Linked DNA regions of Homo sapiens: regions 2, 3, 4, 5, 6 and 7 are each linked to region 1. Evidence: promoter capture Hi-C in 16 types of primary human blood cells and fetal thymus (Javierre and others, 2016). All regions are on one chromosome and are shown on one strand. The core of a region is centred on a gene start or on the middle of the fragment in contact, and the rest is flanking DNA. Distances in the headings are between cores, read along the strand shown. Region 1 holds the start of ACTG2 (actin gamma 2, smooth muscle). Region 2 holds the start of DCTN1-AS1 (DCTN1 antisense RNA 1). Region 3 overlaps DCTN1 (dynactin subunit 1). Region 4 holds the start of SLC4A5 (solute carrier family 4 member 5). Region 5 overlaps SLC4A5 (solute carrier family 4 member 5). Region 6 overlaps SLC4A5 (solute carrier family 4 member 5). Region 7 overlaps SLC4A5 (solute carrier family 4 member 5).

Region 1 (3,792 bases), core at 890-3,389:
GGAATTTAGACTTAGGCACTAAACACGCAGGCCAGTGATCAAATGATGAGTAAGTGAACCTCACAATGACAACAGTGTTCCTTCTCCACAGGGAACAACTGCAGGTCCTCAAGGAAAGTGTTTTTAAATCTTTCCTCTGGGCTGTCTCAGCAGAGGACACTCCTCATTCACACCATCTCCTGCCTCAATTTTCAGTTAATGAGGAAGCCAGACCTGTACCAAGCCATTGCACCAGGTGACCCAAAACCACCTGGAACTCCCTGTGCGTTTAGCAGGGATGCAATGCATGCTTCTTCTATTGAAGCGGGGGTATCCTGGGCACCGGGTGGGGAAAGTTTAAGAAACACAGATGGCTGAGGCCTATTCACTGAGTTTCTGTTTCAATAGGGCTAGGTGACACCTGAGAATCTGCATTGTGAGCACATTCCCATATCATGCTGCTGCTGCACTCTGGTGGTCCCCATGCTTTGGGAACCTCTGTGTTGAAGACGAAGCAGAGTCAGGAAGGCCAGTCAGGAAGCTGCGCCCCACTCCAGGCCAGATAGGACTGGAGCCTGAGGCAGCGCAGGCCAGCAGGGATTGAGGGAGGACACAGAGCTGAGGGGCATTTCTGGTCGGGGGAGCACCAGGCTGTGGTGCCCAGGTGGTTGTGGGAGCATGAGGGAGACACAGGGTTCTAGACTGACTGACTTCTAGCTTGAAGGGCCGAGGGGTGGACTTGGAAGTTGGCAACCCAGGAGGCACAGCAGCTTTGAGGGTAGGGAAGAAGGGTTCAGTTTTAGACAGGATGAGTTTGAAGAGCTGGAGAGTCATCTGGATTGGGATGTCCAATAGGCAATTGATCATTTTAGTCTGGATCAGGGTGAGGGAGGGGGACCATGAGAATGTGGAGTTGAAAGTAATACTGCAGAGCTGGTAGCTGATAATGTGGGAAATGAACCAGCTACCTAGGGATAGTACATGAATTACACAAAGAAGAGCAATCATCAGCCAGCCATGGTGGCTCACACCTGTAATCCCAGCACTTTGGGAGACCAAGGTGGAGGGATTGCTTGAATCCAGGAGTTCAAGATCGAGACCCTGTCTAATTAAAAACAAAACAAACAAACAAAAAGAAGTCCAGGCGTAGTGGCTCACACCTGTAGGCCAAGGCAGGTGGATCACGAGGTCAGGAGCTCGAGACCAGCCTGGCCAACATGGTGAAACCCTGTCTCTACTAAAAATACAAAAATTAGCTGGGCATGGTGGCAGGTGCCTGTAATCTCAGCTACTCAGGAGGCTAAGGCAGGAGAATTGTTTGAACCTGGGAGGCGGAGGTTGCAGTGAGCCGAGATTGCACCAATGCACTCCAGCCTGGGGGATAGGGCGAGACTCTATCTCAAAAAAGAAAAAGAAGCAGCTCAAGAATCACAGGACTGTGGAAAATCCTACAGGCCAAGAGTCTTGTTAGGTGTGCCTCAACCCTGAAGCAGGTCCCTCAGTCTGCAGATATTTAGAGATATTTAAAGGAAAACCAGGAAGGAGCCAAGAGAGAATGAAGCCTAAGGTGTCCTGAGACCCTCAGAGAACTCAGCCCAAGGGTTAGGAGCTTGTGTCAAGGTGCAGCAGGTGAGTAGGGCACGCAGGATTTCTTTCCTGGGTACGGAAGGCATTTCTCTTCAGCTTTCATTGGTCCCAGGCTCGTGCCAGACAAGGCATGATTGCACCCATTTTGGGGACAGTGCCTGGGCGTCCCAGGCAGACCCAGGGGCCGCATGCAGCAGGGCCTGAGGAGGGAGGTGTGGACGGAGGAGGCCCGCTGCCATTCTTGGTATGGTTCTCACTCCAGGAGCACAGCTGCATCTGGTCTCACTCTGGGCAGCTTATAAGGCCTGGTGTGAGTTTTGTTTATGCAAGTGCAGCATAAAAGGAACAAATCTACCAGCACCGGGGCTGTTGCCACTGAGTCCTTTTGCATACATTTTTCAAATGATAACTCACTCTACCCACCCCCCTTCCCTACCCCCAAGGCGATTTATTGAAAAAACCACCTTATATGGTAATATTGCTAACACACCGTCAGCTGGCCTTTTTAGGGACTTTGTTTAAAGAAGATCCGCCTCTGGGGTTTTATATTGCTCTGGTATTCATGCCAAAGACACACCAGCCCTCAGTCACTGGGAGAAGAACCTCTCATACCCTCGGTAAGTACTGTACGGCTTTTGCCACCTCTTCCTTTCCGGGGCTGCCTGGCCTCCTGGGTGCGGGAGGTGCCTCCAGATTGGCCTGGCTTCTGTGACGCTGGCCCAGATCACACACCAGAGCCCTTGGTGGGCAGCGGCACCTGCAAGCATACTGCAGCCTGCTGAGAAAAGGCGTATCTGGCCATGGGACATCCTGGGGCAGGGGCAGCTTGGAACCGTGCTCCCTGCCTCAGAATGGGGACTGGCGGGATATAATGCCTGCAGTCTCTACTAGCCCTGCTCCCCAGGGCCAGTGCAGATCCACACCCTGATGTCCTTTGTCTTGGGTTAGAATGTCTGGGAGGCTGTTTTAGGGGATCATATACTTTGCAGAAAAGCAGCTTTTCAGAATACTTGAGTCAAAGCCAACAGTGGTCCTGGTGTCTGTGAGCTGTTTAGTCCATGAAATGTCTGTGCTGGGAATGGGAGGGTATTTTCTTCAGGTCCCCTGTGGGTCTCTCTGTCCTCTGATCTGTGCTTGGCTGAGGAGAATGGAGGGTTTCTGCAGTCCTTGAAGGCTCTAGGATCATTGGGGGATGGAGAAAATTCCACTTGCCCTGTGGCATCGTGAGGTTTCAGGGTAGAAGGAACTTGGGACCCATCTAGTTCATTCTCCTCTGATGAGGACATTGAGGCCTAGAGACGTACAGCCACTCATCCAAAAGACTCACACCCAACTGTGACCCATTTGCAGATGTCATTACTCCCCCCAACCCACCCAACACACACACAACACATGCACAAAGAATTAAGAGGAAGATGAGATGAAGGGGCCACTTCTATGTTTGGCATCAGAATTCACTAGCATCTCTTCACAGGTGAGGCAGGCTGGGTGTGGCAGTGCAGGCCTTGAAGGCAGACTGTCAGGCTAACCAAGTTACTGAGCGACCTCAGCTTCCTCACCTGTAAAATGGGGGCAAGAATAATAATATCTACTTGGCGATGGTGTGAGGATTAAACGAGAGAATGCGTATATACAGCACTCAGCTCAAGGCTGTCAGGGCCCGGCCCTGAGTTCTCAAACTTTAAGAATCACCTGGAGTGCTTGTTAAAACACAGATTGCCCCATGCCCCACCCCAGATTCTGATTCCAGTAGGCCGAGATATGGCCTGATACTTGGAATTCCTAACAAGCTCCCAGGCGACACTGAAGCTGCTGGTCTGGGACCACACTTTGTACAGGGAGGCTCTAAGTGCTCACTTTGATTACTTGAATGTGGGTTTGGACTCTGATACTAACCCTTGGGCTGAAAAGAGGAAGAGCTTCCTGTGACAGAGAGGGATGGGTGCTGGAGAAACTGCAATGAACAGTAAGATCCTACATGCCAGGCCTGAGAAAAGGGGATGGGCCGTGTGACATCATGACCTTGGGGCGAGATATCTTTCCTCTTTCCCCTTGTTCATTCTGCCAACATTTATTGAGCACTTATTATGGGCCAGGCACTGTCTCTGCTCCTTAGGGACAGTGGAGAGGCTTCTGCAGTTACTGGAAGAGACAGATAAACAGATGAGAACCATGGAGCAAATAAGTACACGAAAGGGGTAAAGGCCAGGAGGAGCCCATCACTCA
Region 2 (3,792 bases), core at 414-2,913, 490 kb after region 1:
GAGAGAGAAAATGCGTCCTGTTCTTAGGGCCTTCTCTGGGGAAAACTTAATTGCATACACGAATACATGTACTTCACTATCTCCTTCAAAAATGAACCTGTGATGTAGCCAAAACAGATTCCATTCTCTCCATTCCACAGATGACAGAACTATGTCTCAGAAGTCAAATGACTTGCCCAAGTCTCATAGCCAAAAAATGGCAGAGGGGCACATCTGAATATCTCTACAGGTAGGTGCTCCTTCCACAGCATTACCGGGCCCAGGCCCATATCCCATAGGACAATCCTGGGTTAATGTTACCCCAGCCAGGGAGGAGACAGACACCTCTTGGATTTCTAATCCATTTTCCTCTCCAATGATATTAAATACCACTAAAATATCTAGAAAAATGAGAAGAGAGGAGGGGAAAAATCTCTGTGTCTGATAAATAATAATCTCTGTGTCTGCCAATAGTCTTAGAGAAATTTCAGGAAATTATAGGAAAATAAGATTTTGGAGAATGAAAAAGGAGAAAGTGAGGAGGAAAAGCCTCTTTTCCACCTCTACCATTTCTCCCCTGTCTGAACCATTTCTACCTTGTTTTTACTGGCACCCCAGCATCCTTTGATACCTTGATCTCCTCTTGTCTCACCTTATCAAACCTTGATCCTGGGCTAACCCAACTGTCTGCTTTCCCTGCTTTCCCACTCCTAGAGGAGCTTGTCTGAAACCCAGGCAGTCTGACAGCAAGGCAAAACTATACATCTCTGAAAGCACTAGTAAGGAAGAGATAAACGTGGACCTAAGTCCTTCAGGAGTCAGAAAGGAAAAGGTCTGCTTACTGAGTGGTAAATGGAGGCTGGGAGACTGGAAGCTTGGAAAGCTGGATTCCAGATATTCACAGGACCCCAGAAGACAACGTACACAGAGCTTTTTGTTCCTAGGTCCTACTCAGTATCTGCCTTGCGGATTTCATAGATAAGGCCTACACACTCAACGGACTTCCTTCCCTTCTCCAGCTCCTCATTACCCTAAAAAAACGTCTACAAACCCACTCCCACTCTGAATGCAGCTCTACTCCATCTCAAAATGTCCCCTTTCCCCAGAAATATCCAGTGACTTCCAGGCCCACCTCCAAGGGCCCAGACCTCTAAAAGTCAAGAAGAAAAGCTATGCTATATGCTTCACTTATCTTCAATATAGGAACTTCTGCAAGAAGGCAAGAGGCACTCAGCCCTGCACTCAAGAACCTCAATCCTCTCAGTGGTATCAGAAGTCCTACTTAGGCTGTTCGAAGTTCCTGCTGATTCCTCCCCCTGAATCAACCAGCAAGTTCCTGGCACTAGGACCCTGTAGACAGGGAACCCTGAGCCTGCGCTCTAAAGAGAGAGATGCACCATTTCACAACTTCAGCAAAAGCCAAAGCAGCCAACAAAGCCACAGCCCTATCGGCTGTACTGGGCTCTGCCTTTTGGGCAGCTCGCCGGCCACTCCCCAAAAGCAGAGCATTCCATCCTTTCTCTTTTTAAACCCACGTCATCATCTGATCATAATGGAAATCAATCTCCTCAAACCACCATGCAAAGGCGTATCCATGGCAACCTCAAAAGGAAGGACACAGAGATGATGCTTCAGTGGCTGCAGCAGGAAAAGGTAAGTCCGTTTCTCTTCCATCCACGCCATCCCATCACTCTCTCCTTTCACTCAAGTCAGGTATACAGCTTACCTACAAATTGTATCTGTCACACAAACTGAGAAAACACATAAGGTGAGTTAATAATCATTATGTTATTATATAAGGTTTTAGATCTGCCTGTCTCTCTGCCAAGAAAAAATTCTCCTTTTCTAGGTGATAGGAACAGGGACAAGGTCTCTCTTCTTATTCACCTCTCAGATGACACAATCTCAGCCCACAATACCTGACAAATCACTATCGGTCACTTGTCTTTCTAGTCAGGATGCTGGAAAAATCACTCAAGAATATCCGAGTTTCCCTATGTAGTTGTCAAAAGCTGACAGCAACAGTGATCCCACTGTCCTGCCCCCTCCATGCCACCATCATGCCCACAAACTGGCATGGTAAGATTCCCTCCTTAGCAACCCTAGACTCTAGGCTCTCAAGGTTCAGAAACCGGGAGTTGGGATTAAATTTCTGTCTTCTCTGATGCCTCAGGAAAAGGAATCCATTTCTGCAGACGTAAGAGATTCATCAAATACAAGCGCTACTAATCCTCTATGCCTCAATTTCCTCTTCTGGAAGAAAGGGATAATAACAATAACTTTCTAACAGGATTGTTGTAAAAATCACATGAGAATGCCTGAAAAGCACTTAGAACAGTGCCTTGTATAAAGCACTCAATAAATGTCAGCCATTATTATTATGAGAAAGATGAAGGGGAGGCTTATAGTGTAGGATTTCAGTTCAGAGGGTACTCAACACTCTTGGAGCTTATTTCAGTTCCACTGTCTTCCTCTTTCCTCTTAACAGTTATTTCAAGCTTCCTTTACATTTTCAAGTCCTTACTCCCACCCAAGCCAACACCAGCATTCCCACCTCTCAGCAGATAACCTTGCTGAAAAAGAAAACTGGCCCTATTAGGTAAGAATTTCTTTGAAAATTTAGATATATCTGCATGCATATGTCATTATCTCTTTCTTCCTAAATTCCTTCCTTTCTTCCAACATTCCTCTTTAAAGAAAATGGTATCCCCTTCTTTTCAGGGCCCACCCCTTCCCCTCTCCTCTGAGGACTTGATTTAGCAATCGTCTTTTCTCTTGTGTCTTCATTGCACCCTGTCTACTGGATCTTACATGGCATCAGAAAACCCATAAACAAGACTTCCATTCTAGGAAAAACAAGTCCCTGCTACCTCTTCCACAAGCTGCCACCATTCTGTATTCTTCCTTTCTCTGCTGAACTACTCAAAGTGAGTACACATTCTCTATCTTCACTTCCCATCTACTTCTCGATCCATTGCTATCTGGCTCCATCCCTACCACTCCACTGAAGCTGCTCACACTTTAAAAGAGCCCTGGTGACCCCAATGTCCTACACAACCTCAAGGTGCATTTCCCAAGCTCATCCTAACTTGATCTCCCTGTAGCAACTGAGATTGTCAATCCTTTTCCTGGAATTTTCTCCTTTCCTAGCTTCCTGGGCAACATTCTCTCCTACCCTTGCACGTCAATCCTTCTCATCTCCTCTGTCATTATTTTCAGCCTTCTGTAAGCGTGGCTGGGAGACCTCAACCATTCCCACAACTTCAACTACCACTCATACTTACTGCCCCTAGACAGAAACTCTTCTGAACTTCAGACTCATATCTCACTGTCTGCTAACTGCCACAGAGCCCTCAAGTTCAATATGACCCAAAACACACTTGGTATCTCCCCCACCAAAAACAAACAAACAAAAAAAAGTTCTTCTTCTATATTCTCTCTTTGCTATTGGCACCACCATCCACTCAAAATAGAAAACTGAGTCATCCGCAACAACTCCCTCTCTTGTTCTCAACAACCAATTTAGTCATTATGTCTGGTTAATTCTGTTTCTCCAGTCTCTCTCAGATTCATCCTGTCCTCTCTATCCCCACTGACCTAATCCTTAGCTCAGCCCTAAACCATGTCTATGATATTACAAGAGTCTCCCGATGTCCCTGAACCAGGTTCTCCCCCTTCAATTTCCACATTTAGCTTCCCAAAATACAATCATGTCATCTTCCTGCCTAAAAGTCTCCAGTGGCTTCTCTGCCCACAAAATGAAATCTTTTTAGCACTGCACTACAGGCCATTAACAACCTGGCCTTGACCAAG
Region 3 (3,792 bases), core at 590-3,089, 470 kb after region 1:
TTTGTACCTCCTATCCTTTACTAGTATGCCACTTTAGTTTTCCCTTATTTAGTAAATATTCCCTCTGAGAGACCCCAGGTCTTATGGGAAGACTGGCCAGTACATCAGAAAATTGGCTGGGGTGGTGATCATATCATTACTCCAGCTCCAAAAATTGGACTAAAGAGCAGTGGAAGCTACAGGAAGCAGAGGCAGGGTTGGCAGAGGCTACACCCTCCCAGCCCTCCTGACTCCATAAATGAACTTAGGTACCTAGTCCTAAGTCTAGCCCTTTCCTCCTTGGTTAGAGTAACTTACTGCACATGAATTTTAGAAACAGCATTCTTCTGGTCACTACGAAGAGGAGACCTCAAATTTGATACAGCCAAAGCTTCCTCAGCATCGCTTCTCCTCCACTCCTGCTGTGAGCTTAATGGCCCAAGTCCCACTCTCAACACCACACAGGAAGCACTGAAGCAGAAGTTGCTTTAATCAAGGGGTGAAGTCCTCAATCAAGGGGACCTCACTTAACCTTTGGTGGTGGGGTCTCAGCCTACCCCCCACAAGCCCTGAGGCCCCTCAGGAAGGAGGGAGCAGTTGAACAACAAATTATGGCAGAGGCCAGGGAATGGGAGTGGGGGAACCCGGGTCAAGGTGAAGGGGCAGGACGCTGAAAGGGTGGGAGTGAAGCTGAACGGGGCAGGAAGAGCTTAACCCACGTTTCTACCTGGGGGCTGGCTGAGGTGGCTGTGCATCGGGCAGAGCGGCACCAGAGGGCTGAGGGTCGAAGGGGACAGCAGGGGAAAGGAGTGCTTAGGAGATGAGGCGACTGTGAAGCTGGTGCAGCTGCTCCTGGGTCAGCACCAGCCGGTGTCGCTGTCCAAAACCAGCCGCACATGAGAAGGTCACTTTGCCCATGTAGACTGTGTCATCCTGCTGCTCCTCCTTGGCCTGGTGGTTGATGAGGAGAAAAAGACTCCAGGTCAGGGGCTCACTTGAGCTGTGGGCCACTGAAGGGGTCCCTGAGCACTGAGACCAAGGCAGCTCCTGGGTGACTAGGGCTTCTGAGATCCTGGGCTATTGTGACCACATTTTTCAAATAAGAATGGGGATACATAATCTGACAAGGGAGTTTTGAGGCCCTCCTGGTGTCAAAAGTCACGGAAGGTGTTTAGGTGCTAAAATATTGGAATTTCAAAGCACTGTAAGCACTTCTGAGTTACTTGTAAGTAAAATTTGGCCAGATAACCCAAGGTATGCAGTTGTTAGACCTGAGACTCCAAAGGCCTCCTCCAATTCTGGAGGAGAGGGGGGCCCGCCTGAGCTCTCCACACTGTCCCATCCTCCACCCCATGCTCCCCCTCACCCTGAGGAAGGCTGATGAAGGGAAGGTGGCAAAGTCAGTGGGTACTGTGGCTCCAGGGCGCTGAGATACTGTCTCCTTGAGGACCTCATCCTAGGGAAGGGGAGAGGAAGACAAGGGTTCATTTATGGGACCCCCACAGGCTAGCACAAGACCACGTGGTTTCACAGAGACACTAATACCAGGGGGGCAGGGACTTAGTCCTCTATATCAACATACTTTTGCTCTCATCTCCAACCCCATCCCCACACCAGCACTCCTCCTTACTTTGCAAGTCCTCATCCTGTAAGGCCCAACTCACATTCTACCGCTCTTGGGAAGCCATGCCCAACCGTTCTACCCCACAATGATCTCAGCGCTGATGGAAGCTAAAGCCTGAACCAGTCACTCTAAAGATTACCCTAGCTTATCCATTTTGTTATGAGAATCTGTCTTCTGTTTGCACTGAGACAGTGAGCTTCCAAGGCAAGAACCCTGCCTTCCCTTCCATCTCCTCCCCAATTGCTGTCTAGCACAGGGCTGGGCTCAGAGGAACTCCACAAGTGCCTGGCTCCACCAGTTTATGCTGTGAAGTGAGCTCTGCCTGGCAAACTGAGCTGACCTTGAGCTTCTCGACGGTGTCACTCAGGGACTTAAGCTGAGCCACTTGCTCCATAAGTTGGGCCGACGGGCTCTTGGCAGCTGTGGGGAGAGAAAGCTGGTGAGGCCCACCAAGGCGCAGGCAGGCAGTTCTACTGGATTAAGGGTTAGGGGTGCAGGTATAAGACTCTCTAACAGAACAAGTACTTGAGAGAGAGTGGGTGAATCAAACAAACTGAACAGTGAAGCCAAAGAACACTGCTGGGAAGAGCTTCTGTGGTGGGGGAACCACCTGAGCAGGGGCTAAATCCCTGGGCCAAGTGGAGGGGGCAGTTTTATTCATCTTGGGGGTTGGCAGGTACATACCAGGGCTGGTGCGAGTGATGTCTACTACGTGCGTGTGTGTGCTCAATTGATTCAATGTCTCCAGCAGCTGGCTGGTCTTACGATACAGCGCTCCAGCTGGTAACTCACTGCCAGGGCCCTCATGGGATAGCTTTGCAACATGCAGAGGGGGCAGGGATGCCAAGGATGCCTTCATCTGGGCTCCCTGTGGATGAAAAAAGAAGGATAGTGGTAAGAGGTGCTAGGAGGCCCCTGTCATCTATCATCAATGGGGCAAATATGCTCCATCTCCCATCCCAGTCCTCCCCGTGGCTCCCTCACCTTGAGGATGCTGTTCTCATGCTGGAGCTGGGAGATGTGCAGCCTCATGGCAGAGATCTGCTGAAGCAGCAGTGGTGAGTCCTTCACCAGCCCTGGGCCTGGCACAGACCCTGGAGCCTGCCCAGGGATGGCTCCTGTGGGGACCATAAAAAATCTCATCAGCCCCAAGTGGAAAGGGTTGAAAATTGGGCTCCATTCCTACTCTTCCCCTTTCCTCATCCCCCCATCACCCATCTCCAGTCCTGGCTTCCCCCTCCACCCTGCTCCCTTAGCTCCAACTCCCACCAGCCTGGTAACCCCCGGCCAGAGTGGGTCTCTACCTCGCTGCTGTTCTTCTGTGCTCGGGATAGCCCATGGGGGAGCAGGAAAAGAGGAGAGAGGAGTTAGGTGATTTGGGGGTTACGGGGACACACCAGAGGAATCCTGGACACAACCTGCAGGAAAACCCTTTTCCTAATCATCATACTTTCTCTAACAAGACTCTCTGCCACCTATCTTTGGGGACGAGCAGATAAGTGTTAAAGAAAGACACCAAACAGGAGTGAGGCCACAAGACAGGGTACAATGTGTGAAGAACAGTGGCAAAGAGAGTGTGCACTGTACAAAGTACTTGGAACATGAGGCTGTTCCTGCCTCCCTGTCTCAGATGCCATCTCCAAGAAGGGCACGGAGAATGCTCCAGAGACCCCAATATGTCTGCACCCTTAGTGCTCACCAGCAGCAAAGCTTAAGTTGGGGATGCAAACACACTCCCTTGCTCCTAAGGATTCCCCATTGCTCTGAGGCAAAAGACCTTCTTTTTTGGTGGGAAGTTTCATAAATTCAGAACTATGTTTGTTTAAAGAGTGCTAATGTTTGTTTCAAGAGTGCTAAAAACAACACAAAGTAGTAATCCTGGAAACTCTCTCCAAAGAACACAGAGCTGTCTGTACCACAAGAGCCTAAAGTCAAGAAGGTACTTGGTCACCTCCCAAGATCAAGGGGTGTCAGTAACAGAGACTTTGTCAAAGACTCTATGTAGGTGAGGTCAGCTGACAAGACTCAGGAGCAGCTGGGAAAGTCTGGAGGCCCTAAGGGTTTAATTCCAGGGCAAAAAGCCTGTCTTCTGGAGGTGAGAAGGTTAAGTGAGAAACTGGAGAGTAAACAAAACAAACTATAGGGCAGAGGAGAACAAAGACAGCAGCAGCCACCTCCTGAGTCAGGTA
Region 4 (3,792 bases), core at 325-2,824, 450 kb after region 1:
CAGTTGGAACCATCCACCTCTCGTTTTTTCTATCTCTGCTATTAACATAGCCCCTCCTCTATTGCCTCACCAACTATTTTCAAACCAAAAAGTCTTTGTCTATTCATAGCCACTGTAAAAGTAACATTCATTTTTCTGTTTTTTAATCTAATGTCTGCGTCTTCAGTGGTTCTCACTGGCTAATCTAATCAGTGTGTTCTAGGGAGGTTTATTCCTTGCCTGTTCAGCTTGTCCCAGCACAACAAAGGTAAGTCATTTGCCTGGGGAGAATCAGCTCTTTTAAATCAGACAATCCTCAGGAAAGATGTCAGGACTTTTGCCTCTTTTCTTCATGGGACTGAGATTCAGGAGAACATTCCACATTCCACTGCCACACAGCTCTGCAAACCCCAAATCCTGACTCTCCGAAGAAGGATATGGGCAAGGAAAACAAAGAAGGCATTTGAAAAAACCAAACCTTGCAAGAAAAACTTTGCGTACTTGGTGATTTTTCCAGGTTTATCCTGACTTTTGGCCTCTGTTTTTATGAATTCCATTTTTGTTTAAGTGAAAAAGATACGGTGAGAGAGACATAGTGGAAAATGGGAAGTTTGGAGGAAGATGGGAAGGAAGAAGCCAGTGAGTAGGAAGTGAGAATCGGGAGTGGAGGGAGTGAGGGACGCGGTGCTGAGCGATGGGGAAGAGAAGCATGCCAGGAAGGCGCAGCGTCTCTGGGCACCCAGCATGGGGCCTGGTATATGCACACATTTCCCCTCATTGAACTCTCAACAGTCCAGTGGGGAGAGCATTCTCGTCCCCAACCTTACAGAGCTGGAACAGAAGCTCAGAGACTTACAGACAGGAAGAAAAGTAGGAGCTGGAAGCCCCATTAAAAAAGCAACTCTACCCCTCTTCTTCCAGTCTCTTCTGTGGCTTCTCTAAGGGTCTTCAGCCTCCTTATTTCAGGGTTGACCTTCTCTTTCAGATAGGAAATTTATCATCTGGTTGGATATCCTCACTTTCTTCCTAGATCACGTGGAGTTTTCCCTTAGTGGAAAAGCCTCATTCCTGGATCTAGAGCCTGCTGGTGGCAGACATGTAAAAAACATGTTTCGGAGGCCATGCCCAAGCCAACACATTAACCCAACATTATAGTTTCTGTTAATAATCCATGGAATCAAAGACAGGCAAGACTAGGGAGATCAACACATGCTGGGTCACCAGAGGCTTTCCTGGTTTTAGCACAGAAGATCTGTGACCCAGGAAACCCCTTAGTCCCAGGAAGATCAGCACAGCCTAGGCCAGAAACAGTTTCGGGCCTTAGGGAATTTCCAGCTGGTTGGGGATTCAACAAATTCAGAAGAGTGTGAGGCTCCAAAAAGAAGCACAAAGGGAGGGAAGGGTTCAGTGAAAGAAAAATCACCCTTGTTTGGAGGATTACCTTGTTCCACAAATGTTCATGGCTTACCTACCAGCCCCATGTGTTAAAGAAAAGCTTTGTGGAGAAAATGGCCTTGGAGATGCAGTGAAGGGATAGGATAGGGGTAGGATTTAGAACAGTAGAACTACCAAGGGGTATCTGAGGCAGAGGGAAGAAGCCACAAAAAATATAGACATAAGAGGTGGGAGAACATAGCATAAATATCCTGAGAACTGGAGAGCAGTTTCCCTGGCACAGGGCAGGTTTGGGGAAATAAAGCTTTGGGCATGCGACGATAGGCTGGGTAGTCTATGGAGAGGTGTAAACATCAGCAAACATGTCTGAAGTGAAAGGAATGTGGAAGGGGACTTGGTACAAGAATGGAATAATGGACTTCACAGTGGATTGTAGCACAGGTGGAAAGACCAGTTGAGACGTTACTGCCAAGCATTCAAGTGAAACCCTTTGGTTTCTACCTACCCAGGTTTTGTTCAAATAATTTGGACATTTATTTCAGACACTTCAGGTTTGGGGTTTTTTTGTCTCTCACTTCACACAGGAATTTGAGGGTGAGCTTCATCTGGTTTGGTGAGGGTATTGGAAGGTATGGGGCAGGGGCTGTCCCTCCAGGATGCACAAAGGGAACAGGTTTGCAGGCTCAGGAATCCTCCTAATGGAGGAAGGAGGAAGGAGGGAGGAGGACCTGCCCTGGCAGCACCGTGCTTTCTTCCTCGTGTCTAGTGTCCACTGGGATTTGGCTGCTGCACTGCTTGTCTCCCTGTCCAGACCTAATGCCTCGTTAGCTGTTAACCAAAGCATGTTCCTTACTTATTTGAGAGGCTTTCTACCTTGCCAGAGAAAGACAGCCATTTGAATGTTCTCTGTGAGAAAAGGGAAAGGCAGTGTGGCGGTGTGAGACCACAGCCTGAAGTCCCCGACTGCCACCACCTGCCACAATATCCTGCTGCCACTCCCCAGCTCTGCTGTCTCTAAGCCTCAGTTTCCCACATGAACCAGGCGACTAAAGTGGGGATGGCAGATTTTCTCTCAGAAGGGAAAAGTGCTAGGCGTCAGGTCCAAAGAAGTATACTGTAAACCCCTCCTCGTATTCCAGCACTGCTTTGGAATGCTTTTTTTTTTTTTTTTTTTTTGCTTTGGATATTTTTCCTTTTTACTTTTTTTTTTTCAAGTTCTCTCATGAGGTTGCATACTTTACTTTTTTTCATTTAAAAAATGTAGTTCCAGTTGGACTTAGGGAGGAAAGAGAAGTAAATGTTAACAGTTCACTTTACAATCTTGAACGAATTTTTTACTTAAGGTTGATTTAACTTGGTAAGTGTATTTTTTGTGAATTTCCTATTCATATCTATGTTTCTATTGATGTGTTTCTTTTTTCTATTTATTTATTTATTTATTTATTTTTGAGATGGAGTCTCACTCTATCACCCAGGCTGGAGTGCACTGGCCACCATCTCAGCTCACTGTAACCTCTGCCTCTCAGGTTCAAGTGATTCTCATGCCTCAGCCTCCCAGGTAGCTGGGATTACAGGCATGCGCCACCATGTCAGGCTAATTTTTGTATTTTTAATAGAGATGGGGTTTCGCCATGTTGGCCAGGCTGGTCTCAAACTTCTGGCCTCAAGTGATCCACCTGCCTCAGCCTCCCAAAGTGCTGGAATTACAGGCATGAGCCACCACTCCCAGCTTCTTTTTCCTATTTATTTGTAAAAGTTACTTATTTATGTTATAAATATTTTTCTTTTTCTTTGTTTTTAGAGAAAGGGTCTTGCTCTGTCACCCAGGCTGGAACGCAGTGGCGCGATCACAGCTCACTAAAACCTCAAACTCCTAGGCTCAAGAAATCCTCCCGCCTCGGCCTCCCAATTATAGATATTTTTCTGTTTGTCATTTGTCATTCAATTTTGTTTGCAGTCTTTTTCTTTTTCTTACAGGAAGGTTTAATACGATGTGTGTGTGTGTGTATTTTAATAAAGTCAAATTTATCCATATTATTCTTTAAGGTTTCTAGTTTTGTTGTCAATCTTAGAAAAGTTTTAGCCATCCCCAACTTTATATACAAAATAAATTTTCTTTATATAGAAAATCTGTATGTTCTAAATTTTCTTCTAGTTCTTTTCCGGTATTGCTTTGTATATTTAAATATTCAATCCATCTGGACTTTGGTATATGGTGTAATATGAGGATTTAACTTGTTTTTCCCAAGTGTTAAATCACCATTTGTAAAATTATGTACCCTGTACCCACCATCCTACACCCTCCTTCCCAAAGGGGCAGACTGAAATCCAGCCGAGGGGACCCATCCTGCTTGATCACATACTGATGTTTCTATGTGCTTGAGTCTGTTCTCAGCCAACCAACCTGATAGTAGGCCC
Region 5 (3,792 bases), core at 892-3,391, 430 kb after region 1:
AGCTTACTGCAGCCTCCAACCTCTGGGCTCAAGCAATCCTTCCATCTCAGTCTCCAAAGTAGGTGGGATTACACGTGTGAGCAGCTCCAGAAAGCTTGTTAAAATAGATTGCTGGGTCTCATCCCCAGAGTGCCTGATTCCATAGCTCTAGGTTGGGGCCTGGAAATGTACATTTCCAACAAGTTCCCAGTTGCTGCTGATGATGCTGATCCAGGGACCACATTTAAAACCTCTATTTTAAGAAAGTAACTCCCAATTTATATTTTTTATTAAATTGGGTCAGTTGGTGATTTTTAAAAAGCTGATATCTTCCTACTCCAGTATGGTGTGAAGAGTACAGAGAAGCTGAGTAACAGATTTTTTTTCCCATAGACAACCACCTTCAAATGTCTTAGGGGGAGACTCCATGTCTCCCCAAGCCTCTGAAGGAAAGGCCATGTGACCCAGGCTGGTCAAACACACCCCATTCCAGCCACAGAGACTGGTTCAGGAATGATCCCATGTCCTTAACTGGGCCAATCAGAATTCTTCCCAGGACATTTCTGCTTGATTCATCCAAAAACTCTGCTCACTCTGGCACTGCTAAGCTGATAAGCTTGGAAGTTACTATTTTGCCTGTCACATGGAGGGAAGCATTCAAGAAAAGTAGAGAAACAGAGTCCAGATAACACTGTGACTCCCTGAGTCAGTTAATTTTGAACTGTCCTTCTCAGTTGTGTTGAGCTGTTAAATTCACTTTATTTTTTCTCATGTTTGAGTTGGGCTTCTCATGTTTGCAATCACAAGTGCCTGACTAATGAAAATGAAATAGAGCTTTCCAACATGATTTTAAAATGTGTTATTTCCTATTTGAAGTACTATGGATTCTCAGATTGGAAAAGAAAGTTTGTTGGAAAAATAATGAAATGCCTGCTTGTCACTGACAAATGACAATACATATGCAAACACAGATGAGAACTCTACAAACTATAGAAGTATGGAGCTATAATGTAGCTATAATATTCAGGTAGATGCATACCTTCCAGTTCTGGACTAGCTAAGACCATTCCTGCTTCATGTCCTCTGTGCTAGATCCCAACTTCTCACAACTTGAGAGAAGCTCCCTCCCAGGAATATGCAGAAGTAGAAGAACCCAAACTCCCTGAGATGATCTTCAAAGGAGTCCATCCATCTGAAGCTGAGTGTTGGCCCTGGGGAAGTGTTTGGATTAGCTCTGCTCTGACTGGCAACTATACTGCCCACCATAAAAGTCCCAGCCTAATTCATGCAACAGAATTTCTACCTCCAGCATTTCATATAATGTGTATTAGTTGAATGTCAGGTATTTTGCTTTCATCATCTTATTGAATCCTCACTATAATTCAGTGAGGTATATAATTTTCACCCACATTTTATAGATGAGTAAATGAAGACTAAGAGTTAAGTGATTTGTCCTGGATCACAGAACCAGCCATGGTGGAGCCAGGGTTCAAACTGGATTCTTTTTGATTCTCAAACCTAAGGAAAGAAGGAAGAAGGAAGGGAAGGGAGGGGAGGGGAGGGGGAAAGGGGAAGGGGAAGGGGAAGGGAAGGGGAAAGGAAAGGAAAGGAAAGGAGGGGAGGAGGAAGGGAGAAGGAAGGGAGAAGGAAGGAGGGAGAAAGACGAAAGAGAAATAAAGATGTGAGAAACAGAGGGGGCCTGGTATGGGTTACTGACAGTCTTCCACTTCTGGGTTCCAGGCCCTTCCTGAGGCCTGGCTGAACTCCGGTCCACAAGACTTCCCTGGTATTATAATAAGTCCCTCCTTGGTAAAAAGGCATTTGATGTTTAAAAAAATAAAAAAATTTTAAAAACCCTCTTTTCTCTTCAACTAGCTTCAGCTGATTTGAGTTACTTGTATCCAAAGAGTACTAACCAGTACAATCATCCACTACAATATCTTGCCAAAGGAATTGTGCTAGCAACACATCAGCCTCTGGCATGCAGCAAATGAAAGGACCTGTAACACCAGTCTCTTCCCTGCCCAACTAGCTCACTGTTATTCCCCCATCCATCTTTAGATCATAGATCGCCTTGGTGTTGAGCATGGCTTTACAGTAAGGGAACACACAAAATTCTCTTCTGTCCTGAGTCAAAAGTCACTTTCCATTTCATTGCCCCTACCACTAGCCTGAAATCACATCTGGGATCCCTGAGAATCCAAAACCCTACTGACAAAATCAACACCTGGGCCACGTGCAGTGGCTCACGCCTGTAATCCCAGCACTTTGGGAGGACGAGGCGGGCAGATCACGAGGTCAGGAGTTCGATTCCAGCATGGCCAACATGGTGAAACCCTGTCTCTACTAAAAATACAAAAATTAGCCGAGTGTGGTGGTGCACGCCTGTAATCCTAGCTACTCGGGAGGCTGAGGCACAGCAATTGCTTGAATCCAGGAGGCAGAGGTTGCAGTGAGCTGAGATGGCACCACTGCACTCAAAAACAAAAACAAACAAACAAACAAAACACCTTAAGCCTGTAAGACCAAGGATCAGAGTGCTATCCTAGCAAACAGACACACAGGGGTCCTTGCCCAAGCAGACTGCATGCCCAAAGCAGCAAGGTGGTGGTGACACAGCTAGCTTTAAAGATGTATGACACGTTTTAGTCATCAGAGCCCTTGTGATAGAATCATCTGGTGTTTAGGTGCCCACCCCTTCCCTATCCACAAGGACACATCAATTCAATCCAACAAATCCTTATTGAGTATCCACTTTGTTCCAGATATTTGCACTAGACACTGGGAACAGAACAAAATAGTTTCATTACTAGGGAAGAAGAGTAAAGCATAGTAATGAATCCTTAAGATTAGACATCCATGTCTCTGGGAAAAAAGGTAACTAGTAAAAAGGTTGTGCCACATTCACTGGTCAGCTTTTGGGGAGCTTTTCTTTCCACCCCATATTTTAAGCCACTTGACCTTGATATCTAAGAACTCTAGACCAGCCAACATGGTGTCTGATGCACCCTTCTGACAGCCCAGAGTATTTCAGAAAAGGACTTCCCCAAGGGCTTATCTGGGATTATTTTGTGAACTGAATCGACAAGAATGACACGGGGTCATGCTGGGCTTTAGAAAGCTAAGCTAGAAGCCAGGGAAAGGCTACCCTCTCAACCCCTAGCTTGTCCATTGCCTCGGGGCCCTGCAGACTGAAACACCCACGCATGCTCCAGGAGAGAAAGGACAAAACAAACAAATATCCCTAAGAAAACTAGCAGTAGCAAAACCAGGTACCGTATCCAAAACCTAAAAACAAAAATGTGTAATGAAAGGAGACTAGCCATTATTCTGTTTCTATCCTGAGATGCTACATTAGCAGATATAATTTATTTTCCCATGGTTTTCTGGGAAAGAGGTAAGTCTCAGGGTTTTTGCTACTTCATAAGTATTTCAGCCAGTCTAACACATTTGACAAAGACAACAGAAATTTACGTACTAGAAGAGAAAGATTCAGTTCTATTAGATGAGAACAAGATAGAACTAACTTACCATGGTGTCAGACAGAACAAGTTTCCTGTCATTTCTGTTAATTTGGAGTGGTTTTGCACCCAAAAACCTCAAGGCCAGGGTGATAAAAACAGTATAATTTTTAAAGGAAAACCAAATATCCTATACTCATTTGGAAGATTTGCCCAGCTTTCCTGGTATTCTCCTCTTCAGTGTGTGTGAAGCTTACTCTTAAATACTCTGTGTTCATGCTATGAAACACATTTTCCCTTATCTGCATAGCTCTGTCTACTTTCTCTGAAGCTTCCAGCTGCAAACTTACCT
Region 6 (3,792 bases), core at 953-3,452, 410 kb after region 1:
AGTCTGACCAAAAGTGTCAGTGAGCAGGAAGGTTGGCCAACAATGGAAGCAGAGCAGAGGGGGCCAGAGAGGTTAGGCTGAGCCATGTGGAGCGTTACCCACATTCTCCAGAAAATCCCCCCTGCCCTGCTGGGTCCCATCTGGACACACCAGCAGGATGGCTCCCCAGAATGTACCCCTCAAGGAACTCACGAGTCCTGCTGATAAGATCCATGCTGCTGTCCTGGCTGCTTGCCCCACTCCCTGGGCCAGTCAGTTCCTGCTGTGGCTGGTCTGGCCGCAGGCCCCAGTGGACTTTTTGCAGGCCTGAAAGATGTCCCTTCTGGTCAGTTTTTCTTTGAGGGTAAGTGGGTACTGGAAGCCCAATGTGGATAGGAGGGCATTCTGTGGACACGGCACAAAAGACAGGGGAGGCAGGGTTACTGAAAATTGGCATTTTTTCATAATATTCATCAGTTACAAAGAGATTGGGCTGCAGAAGCAAAATGGAAGACATGGAGTGCCAGGATGGGGTCATTGCCCTGAGGCTTGGGTTTGACCAAGTTCCATTAATGAACCAAATCAACAGTTGCTGGAGGGAATACCCTCAGTGCTATAATTAGAATTCTGTTAGAATGAGCAGAACTCCCATTCCCCCGTTCTTGCTTGTCCGGAACAGTGATTACTGGATATGGCTTATGACACGTGGTTAAGGGGAAAGTCCCTCAGTGGGTCACAGATGTAGTTCAAAATGCCAAGTGCCCTCTTTGATTGTTATGAGAAAGTCATATGCATTTCTACTGAGAGCCATTTTTACTAACAATCAAGGACTACATAGACTACTTATCAGAAAAGTGAGTTATTGAGGGTTTCACAAAGCTGGCTTTGTAAACTAAAATTTCTAAGAACTAAAGTTACCAAGAGCCCTAATTCAGAATCCCACTAATAAGCCTGATTACTATTGAAACCCAGGGTAATGGGCAAAGCACACAGAGGTAGCTGGAATTCCCTCACCTCTCAGATAGGACATTGCTATCAGTTTAACATCAGTGTTGTCTTAAGTCAACAATTTTTAAAATAATTAATAGATTTTTAGGACAGTTTAAGATTTACAGAATTATTGAGCAGACAGCACACAGAGTTCAATATACCTACCTCGACCCTAATCCTACCTCTGCCCCTACAGCTTTCCCTATTATTAACATCTTACATTAGTGTGGTGCATTTGTTATAATTAATGAGCCAATACTGACACATTATTATTAACTATATAGTTTACATTAAAGTTTACTCTTCTATTGTATAGATACTTCTATGGGTTTTGACAAATGCATAAGGACATACATCTACAATTATATATCATATAGAATAGCTTCACTACTCTAAATATCCTGTATTTCACCTCTTCATCCCACCCCTTCCTCCCTCCAACTCCCTTTTCTTTCCTTTTTTTTTTTTTTTTTTTTTGAGACGGAGTCTTGCCCTGTCGCCCAGGCTGGAATGCAGTGGCACAATCTTGGCTCACTGCAACCTCCCCTTCCCAGGTTCAAGCAATTCTCCTGCCTCAGCCTCCCAAGTAGCTGGGATTACAGGCACGCACCACCATGCCTGGCTAATTTTTTGTATCTTTAGTAGAAACAGGGTTTCGCCATGTTAGCCAGGCTGGTCTCGAACTCCTGACCTTGTGATCCACCCGCCTTGGCCTCCCAAAGTGCCGGTATTATAGGCGTGAGCCACCGTGCCTGGCTCCAACCCCCTTTTTACTTACTATCTCTACAATTTTGCCTTTTCCAAAATATCACAGAGTTGGAATTGACAGAGCAGGAGCATTGCCATCTTGTTGGACAAGCACTGCCATTCTAAAGTTCACCTTGATCAAAAACCACCTAAATCCAAAGGGCATCAGCCTAATGGCTAAGGTGAGCATGACCATAAGCCACAAATAACATCTCCAACTAGAAACATTCAAAACCCCTCCCTGACCAGAGACATGCCAGCCCTGAGATAACCTCCCCTCTGGCCAGAGAGATGTTAGCCCCAGGATAACTGCCTCTCTGACCAGAGACATTCCAACACCACCAAAACTTCTTCCCCAAACAGAAACATTCCAAGCTTGTGGTAAGTTCTCTTACCCTAAAATAAATAGTCTTAGTCTGTAAGAGAGAGCGCTTCTGACCCAAATCGGCCAGAAACCCCTCTCAGGTTTATTCTCCAAAGTAAAACTGTCTTTGACTGCCGAGCCACTTTTCGTGTTTCTTTCCTTTCTTTCACTCTTACAGGAATCATATATTATGAAGCCTTTTCATATTGGCTCTTTCAACTAGCAATATACATTTAAGCTTCCTCCATGTGTTTTCAAGGTTTGATAGTTCATTTCTTTTTTTTTTTTTTAACCTCTGAACTTTTTATTGGCCTCCTGCTCCCCAAAGGGTACCCTGCTTCTGCTGGCTTAATGTCTCAGAACTTTGGTGTCATTATTCTCAGACACCACTTTGCCATCCACTATCCAGTGGGTAGTGTTCTTTTGGATGATTTGCATGGAGTTGCTGCTGTCCAGGGCATCACCAAGATTGAAGTCCTTGCCATCTTCCAGCAGGCAGTGGTAGGTGGTGATCTCAGCCTCCAGCTTGAGCTTGATGTTCAGCAGGGCCTTGTACTCCTGGGCCTGGCACTGTCCCTCTGCCTGGGTCTGTGCCAGCTCTGATTCCAGGTGCAGCAGGATCCCATTGAGCTGCTCCATCTGCAGGGTGTAGTGGGCCTCCACCTCCCTCAGGCTGTTTCCCAAGCTGACCTTCAGATTTCTCATGGAGTCCAGGTCAATCTCCAAGGACTGGACTGTACGTCTCAGTTTCATGAGCATCATCTCAGCAGCTCCAACCTTGGCAGACTGCATGGTGACCACTGTGGTGCTCTCCTCCATCTGCTGAGAGCAGTACTTGTCTGGCTCCTCTCGGCTCTTCTGAGGCAGCTAATCATATTGGGCCCAGATGTCTGCCATGATCTTATCAACGTCCTAAGATTTGGGGACATGTACCTCCATGGTCAACCCAGAGCTGGTAATCTGGGCTTGTAGGTCTTTTACTTCCTCTTCGTGGTTCTTCTTCATGAAGAGCAGCTCCTCGAGAGCCTCGATCTCTGTCTCCAGCTACAGCCGAGTGACACTGGTGTCATCAATGACCTTGTGGAGCCCACGGATGTCGCTCTCTACAGACTAGCGCATGGCCAGCTCTGTCTCATAGTTGACTCTAAAGTCATTGGCAGCAAGATGGGCACTGTCGATCTGCACAATGTGGGCATTGTCCACAGTATTTGCGAAGATCTGAGCGCTCATGTCCTCAATGGTCTTGAAGTAATGGCTCCAGTCTCTGACCTGGGGTCCCTTCTTCTCCAGGTGCTCCCGGATTTTGCTCTCCAGCTTCCTGTTATCAGTCTCCAGGCTCCTCACTGTCCAGGTAGGAGGCCAGGAGGTCGTTCAGGCTTTGCATGATCTCTTTCTCGTTCTGGATGCCTCTCATTCTGGCCAGACCCCCAGCCATCCCCATGCCAGGCCCCCAGACCCCATGCCACCCTGGAAGCTGGTGGAGCAGGACACAGAGATCCAGGAACCAGAGCCCCCGGCACCTGCATAGACACTGGCCACACTGCTGACCAGCCAGGCGCCGTAGCTGGGTGGCTGGACAGAGCCCAGGGACCAGTAGTTGGAGGAGAAGGTGGAACGAGTGGTGAAGCTCATGCTGTCCGGGGAGGAGAGTGAGAGGAAAGGACTCAGGCTTTGCTGATGACCTCATTTCTTTCTATCTCTGAACAATATTC
Region 7 (3,792 bases), core at 961-3,460, 380 kb after region 1:
GATAATAAGGTTCATGTGTAATCCCAAACAACTCATTGCAAAGTGAACTGTGTACCATGGTTGGCTTCAAAAAGTGGGGTATTAGAGTTGGGGAAGCAGGTCAAGTGGAAAGAAAATCTCCACGTTCTCCTTCATTATCCAGCAAAGCTTTAACTTTTAGGGATTTTGCCCAAGCTTGGGTGTAGACCCCCAACTCTGCATGCCAGGGTGGGCACCAGGTGCCCCGCTCCTGACTGGAATGTAGCTAAAAGGAACCTTGAAATGTCACTTGTCACAGAAAGCAGCTCTCTGTCACACAAAGCAGGGCCAGAACTGAGGCCTTTTCTGTGCCTAGTAACTCGGTCAGAGATATAATTAGAGGACATTGCTGTTCAATTAATAACAAGAGCAGGAGAAAGCATCATGGCGCTAGCTACCAGGTACAGTCAAGGCTTCCAATGCTCAAACCACAGGATGGGAGAAGAGGAGGTTCTCCTTCAAGGAGGATCTGGAAAGGGCTGAAAACCAAGAGACCTCTATTCTAGTTGTCTCCTCAGATGGAAACTTCGTAACTCCCACTGATCCTGCTGGGCTAGAGTAAGTATCAGCAGTTTTCAATGGCTGCATTAGGATCATCTGGGAGCTTTTTACAAATTCTAAAACCCAGGCTGAATCTCAGACTAATTACATCAGAATCTCAGGGGACTGACAATCAGACATCAATATTTTTTAAAAGGAAGACACAGATCCTTGAGATGATAAAACAACAGGCTGCCCATTATGTGTAGTTAGATAAGAGTAAAATCTGGAGAATATACATAAACATTGTGATTGAAGAGAAGCTTCTATCTATACTATTTTGAATATCATTATAATTAAATAGTGTCTTGGTTAGTTTGTTTGCAAAATCCCCCCTAGGACATTCTAATTTAAAAAATGTAATCTCCCAATGTATGTAACCTTTAATGCTAAGGCTATGTTGCCTCCAAACATTTGTTTTAAGAATTACATTTGTGTGAATTTGTTTCTTTCATGAAGTTTACTCAGCTAAAATTTGTAAAGTATATATCCCTGTGGTCACTCTATCTATGTGGCCTCACCAACTTTATTCTGTAACTCTCCCACCCCGCCCCATTACCCAAAAGCTTGACTTCTGTGTATTAGTTACAAAGCATCAAGACATGTTTGTGCTTTCTGCCTAAGGCCTGTAATACATTTTGTAACTCCAACAAATTCATTTCTTAAAAGTAAGAAATGTAAGTTTTCCTTCAATATCCAGCAAAGTTTTTTAACTTCATATGAGTCATATCAGGATACTGAATTTCCCAACAGATACTGAAGACCAGTATTAATTCACTTAGAAGCCCGTTAAGAATTTTCCTAGAGATGTCTGAGGAATCATCAGATACTCCCCTGGTTCAGTCTTTGACAGAGGCACTAAAAAATGATCTGTGGAAGGAAGATTTTTCAAAAGGGGAACACCTGAGGCCGGGCCTGGTGGCTCACGCCTATAATCCCAGCACTTTGGGAGGCCAAGGCAGGCAGATCCCTTGAGGTCAGGAGTTTTGAGACCAGCCTGGCCAACATGGCAAAACCCTGTCTGTACTAAAAATACAAAGATTAGCCAGGCGTGGTTGTGCATGCCTGTAATCCCAGCTACTCCCAGCCAAGCACTATGCTAAGCACTTAACATGTATTATCTCATCTAATCCTTAAATCTATCTCACGAGGTAGGTCTGTGACTATTCTCATTGTACAGGTGAGGAGACTGAGACCCTTAGAGGATGAGGAGCCTGCCCAAGGTGGCTGAGGCAGGAGAATCACTTGAGCCCAGCAGGCGGAAGTTACAGTGAGCTGAGATGGTGCCACTGCACTCTAGCCTGGGCAACAGAGCAAGACTCTGTCTCAAAAAAACGGGAGAAACACCTAAGCAAATTCTGGCCCATTCTTACAATTTATTTGGCTAATTCATGCTACATAAAATCACATGCATGAAAATATGTATGTGAGATAGTACAACAAGTTGTTTCTACAACGGATTATGACTTTGCATACCATGTATATGTTAATAAACCAAACTTGGCAGTAAATTTGAAAGATTATAAAGTATAAAAGACTGAGGGGGCAGGCATGGGTCAAGGGTCAGCACACATATGGAGAAGTTCAGAAGCTACCAGAAGGGGCTGATGAGCACCAGAAAGGCCTCACAGGCCTCTTGGGGCACCCACCCCGGTCCAGGCTCAGAAATTTTATCTTTTTAGTGTCCCAAAGATGATTAGGTCCAGTGACACTGTCTAATGCTAACCAAGATCACAAAGGCTGATGCATAAACCTGAAGGCCAATTTATTTAATTTACAGTGAGATTTACAATCGTTATAGGGGTTTGTTATGTTCATCCTCTAGCCTTTGCATTCTCTCCTCATGGGCAGATATACAGGGTAAGCCAAATTATCACCAAAAAGTTGCTGAATATAGAATCAGAATGAGTTAATCATTAGTTAAGTGATTCCAGTGTTTAATAGACTTAGGATGATCTTTCATCTCTACTCATGAGATATGTCTAGGACTAGGATCAGATTGATAGGGCCTTCTGTCTTAGATTGTTCTGCAATGAACCCCACTTCCTCCCATGGCTGACTGATTCCCTTTGAATGAAAGTCTTTCCTTTTGGTGGCCTAGGAACCTCCGCTGAGGGCCTTTGGTGATGCAGTACAGTTTGGGCATTACAGGAGAAACACTCCTTCCCAGACAGTGATGAACTGCAGTGGCACAGCTGGTGGTGATGGGGCAGAGGTGTGGCATTCGAGGGAGCTGTGGTGAATGGAATGGGGGTGGCCTCTGCTCCCAAGCTCATGCATTTGGTGAAGGGTCCATCCTCCTGCACACCATGTCCTCATTCAGGGTTGAAGGAGAGCCCACAGCTAAGTGAATGTCATCAGACAAAGTTACTGAAAAATTCTGAATGGGCTCCTTCAAGGAGAGGCTTCTGGAACCAAAACCTCTCTGAGGGCCACTTGTCTGTGTATCCAGGAAGTCCCTGTAATTGCCCCATGGGACTGTCATCTACGCAGTGGTCTGCCTCCCTCAGAGTCTGCTGGTACCTCCCTTCACTGCCTCTCAGGAGAGGCCCTCTCCTCACCTAGGCACTCTCTTCCACCTCTGCTATTCTGGGCCAAGTTCAAAAGTCACCTCTCCTTCCCAGTTGGGAAGACAATGCCTTCCCAAGGGCCAAGGTTGAGGAGACCTCTCTTTCCTCTAACTCGCATCACACTTTTTATCATTTATCACATAACACTTCCTAATCACGACAACAGCTAAAGCTTACTGAGGGCTTTCTATGTGCCAGGCACTATGCTAAGCACTTAACAGGTATTATCTCATTTAATCCTTAAATCTGTCTCATGAGGTAGGTCTGTGACTATTTCATTGTACAGGTGAGGAGACTGAGACCCTTAGAGGATGAGGAGCCTGCCCAAGGTCATGCAGCTCATAAGAGACAGGGTTTGAAGGCATGTCTTTAGATTCTAGAGCCTGTTCTCACCACTTTGCACATACCACCCTGGGTTTTAGTTAGCTGTGTGTATGAGCACATGCCTGCTTTATACCAGATTGGGGTTGAAATATCATGTCTCATGGGCTCCAAGCACCCCACAGCCTGTTTTTGTATGGCCAGCTAGCTAAGCATGGTTTTTATATATTTAAAGCATTGTAAAGAAGGAGAAAGAGTAGGCAGAAGAGAGAAAGGAGAGGAGAAGGAGAGAAAAAGAGAAGAGGAGCGGGGAGAGGAGGGGAAATAAAAGGACAGGGGAAGA

Evidence for each region. The method cuts DNA at HindIII sites, captures the fragments that hold promoters and counts their contacts. A CHiCAGO score of 5 or more calls a contact.
Region 2: a fragment that was not itself captured here is called in contact with the fragment with the promoter of ACTG2 in region 1 in 1 of 17 cell types (activated CD4 T cells); the score reaches 6.9 in activated CD4 T cells.
Region 3: a contact is called between a fragment that was not itself captured here and the fragment with the promoter of ACTG2 in region 1, in 4 of 17 cell types (activated CD4 T cells, total B cells, naive B cells and 1 more). The highest score is 7.1, in activated CD4 T cells.
Region 4: a contact is called between a fragment that was not itself captured here and the fragment with the promoter of ACTG2 in region 1, in 9 of 17 cell types (total B cells, naive B cells, M2 macrophages and 6 more). The highest score is 10.0, in total B cells.
Region 5: a fragment that was not itself captured here is called in contact with the fragment with the promoter of ACTG2 in region 1 in 3 of 17 cell types (naive B cells, activated CD4 T cells and total B cells); the score reaches 7.2 in naive B cells.
Region 6: a fragment that was not itself captured here is called in contact with the fragment with the promoter of ACTG2 in region 1 in 1 of 17 cell types (total B cells); the score reaches 5.2 in total B cells.
Region 7: a contact is called between a fragment that was not itself captured here and the fragment with the promoter of ACTG2 in region 1, in 1 of 17 cell types (activated CD4 T cells). The highest score is 6.2, in activated CD4 T cells.

What each region holds. Positions count from the first base shown.
Region 1 is chr2:73,890,869-73,894,660 of GRCh38, forward strand. ACTG2 (actin gamma 2, smooth muscle) reads left to right here and starts at 2,140. Exons shown (of 9, transcript NM_001615.4): 1 at 2,140-2,183. RefSeq lists an enhancer at 1,216-2,029. The HindIII fragment of the contact is 3,877 bases long and covers 1-3,792 here.
Region 2 is chr2:74,384,119-74,387,910 of GRCh38, forward strand. It overlaps DCTN1-AS1 (DCTN1 antisense RNA 1), which reads left to right and starts at 1,385. Exons shown (of 3, transcript NR_158174.1): 1 at 1,385-1,632. It also overlaps a transcript of DCTN1 not described here. The HindIII fragment of the contact is 1,624 bases long and covers 852-2,475 here.
Region 3 is chr2:74,360,707-74,364,498 of GRCh38, forward strand. It overlaps DCTN1 (dynactin subunit 1), which reads right to left. Exons shown (of 32, transcript NM_004082.5): 27 at 2,908-2,922; 28 at 2,588-2,721; 29 at 2,288-2,471; 30 at 1,944-2,023; 31 at 1,346-1,435; 32 at 449-930. The coding sequence ends at 793. Among named protein-coding and RNA genes, the nearest start is that of DCTN1, 18 kb to the right of the region's middle. The HindIII fragment of the contact is 2,943 bases long and covers 369-3,311 here.
Region 4 is chr2:74,343,416-74,347,207 of GRCh38, forward strand. SLC4A5 (solute carrier family 4 member 5) reads right to left here and starts at 1. Exons shown (of 31, transcript NM_133478.3): 1 at 1. The HindIII fragment of the contact is 204 bases long and covers 1,473-1,676 here.
Region 5 is chr2:74,324,330-74,328,121 of GRCh38, forward strand. SLC4A5 (solute carrier family 4 member 5) reads right to left here. Exons shown (of 31, transcript NM_133478.3): 5 at 3,791-3,792. Among named protein-coding and RNA genes, the nearest start is that of SLC4A5, 17 kb to the right of the region's middle. The HindIII fragment of the contact is 3,097 bases long and covers 594-3,690 here.
Region 6 is chr2:74,304,297-74,308,088 of GRCh38, forward strand. It overlaps SLC4A5 (solute carrier family 4 member 5), which reads right to left. Exons shown (of 31, transcript NM_133478.3): 7 at 193-384. It also overlaps the pseudogene KRT18P26. Among named protein-coding and RNA genes, the nearest start is that of SLC4A5, 37 kb to the right of the region's middle. The HindIII fragment of the contact is 227 bases long and covers 2,090-2,316 here.
Region 7 is chr2:74,272,417-74,276,208 of GRCh38, forward strand. All of the region lies in intron 8 of SLC4A5 (solute carrier family 4 member 5), which reads right to left. Among named protein-coding and RNA genes, the nearest start is that of SLC4A5, 69 kb to the right of the region's middle. The HindIII fragment of the contact is 2,176 bases long and covers 1,123-3,298 here.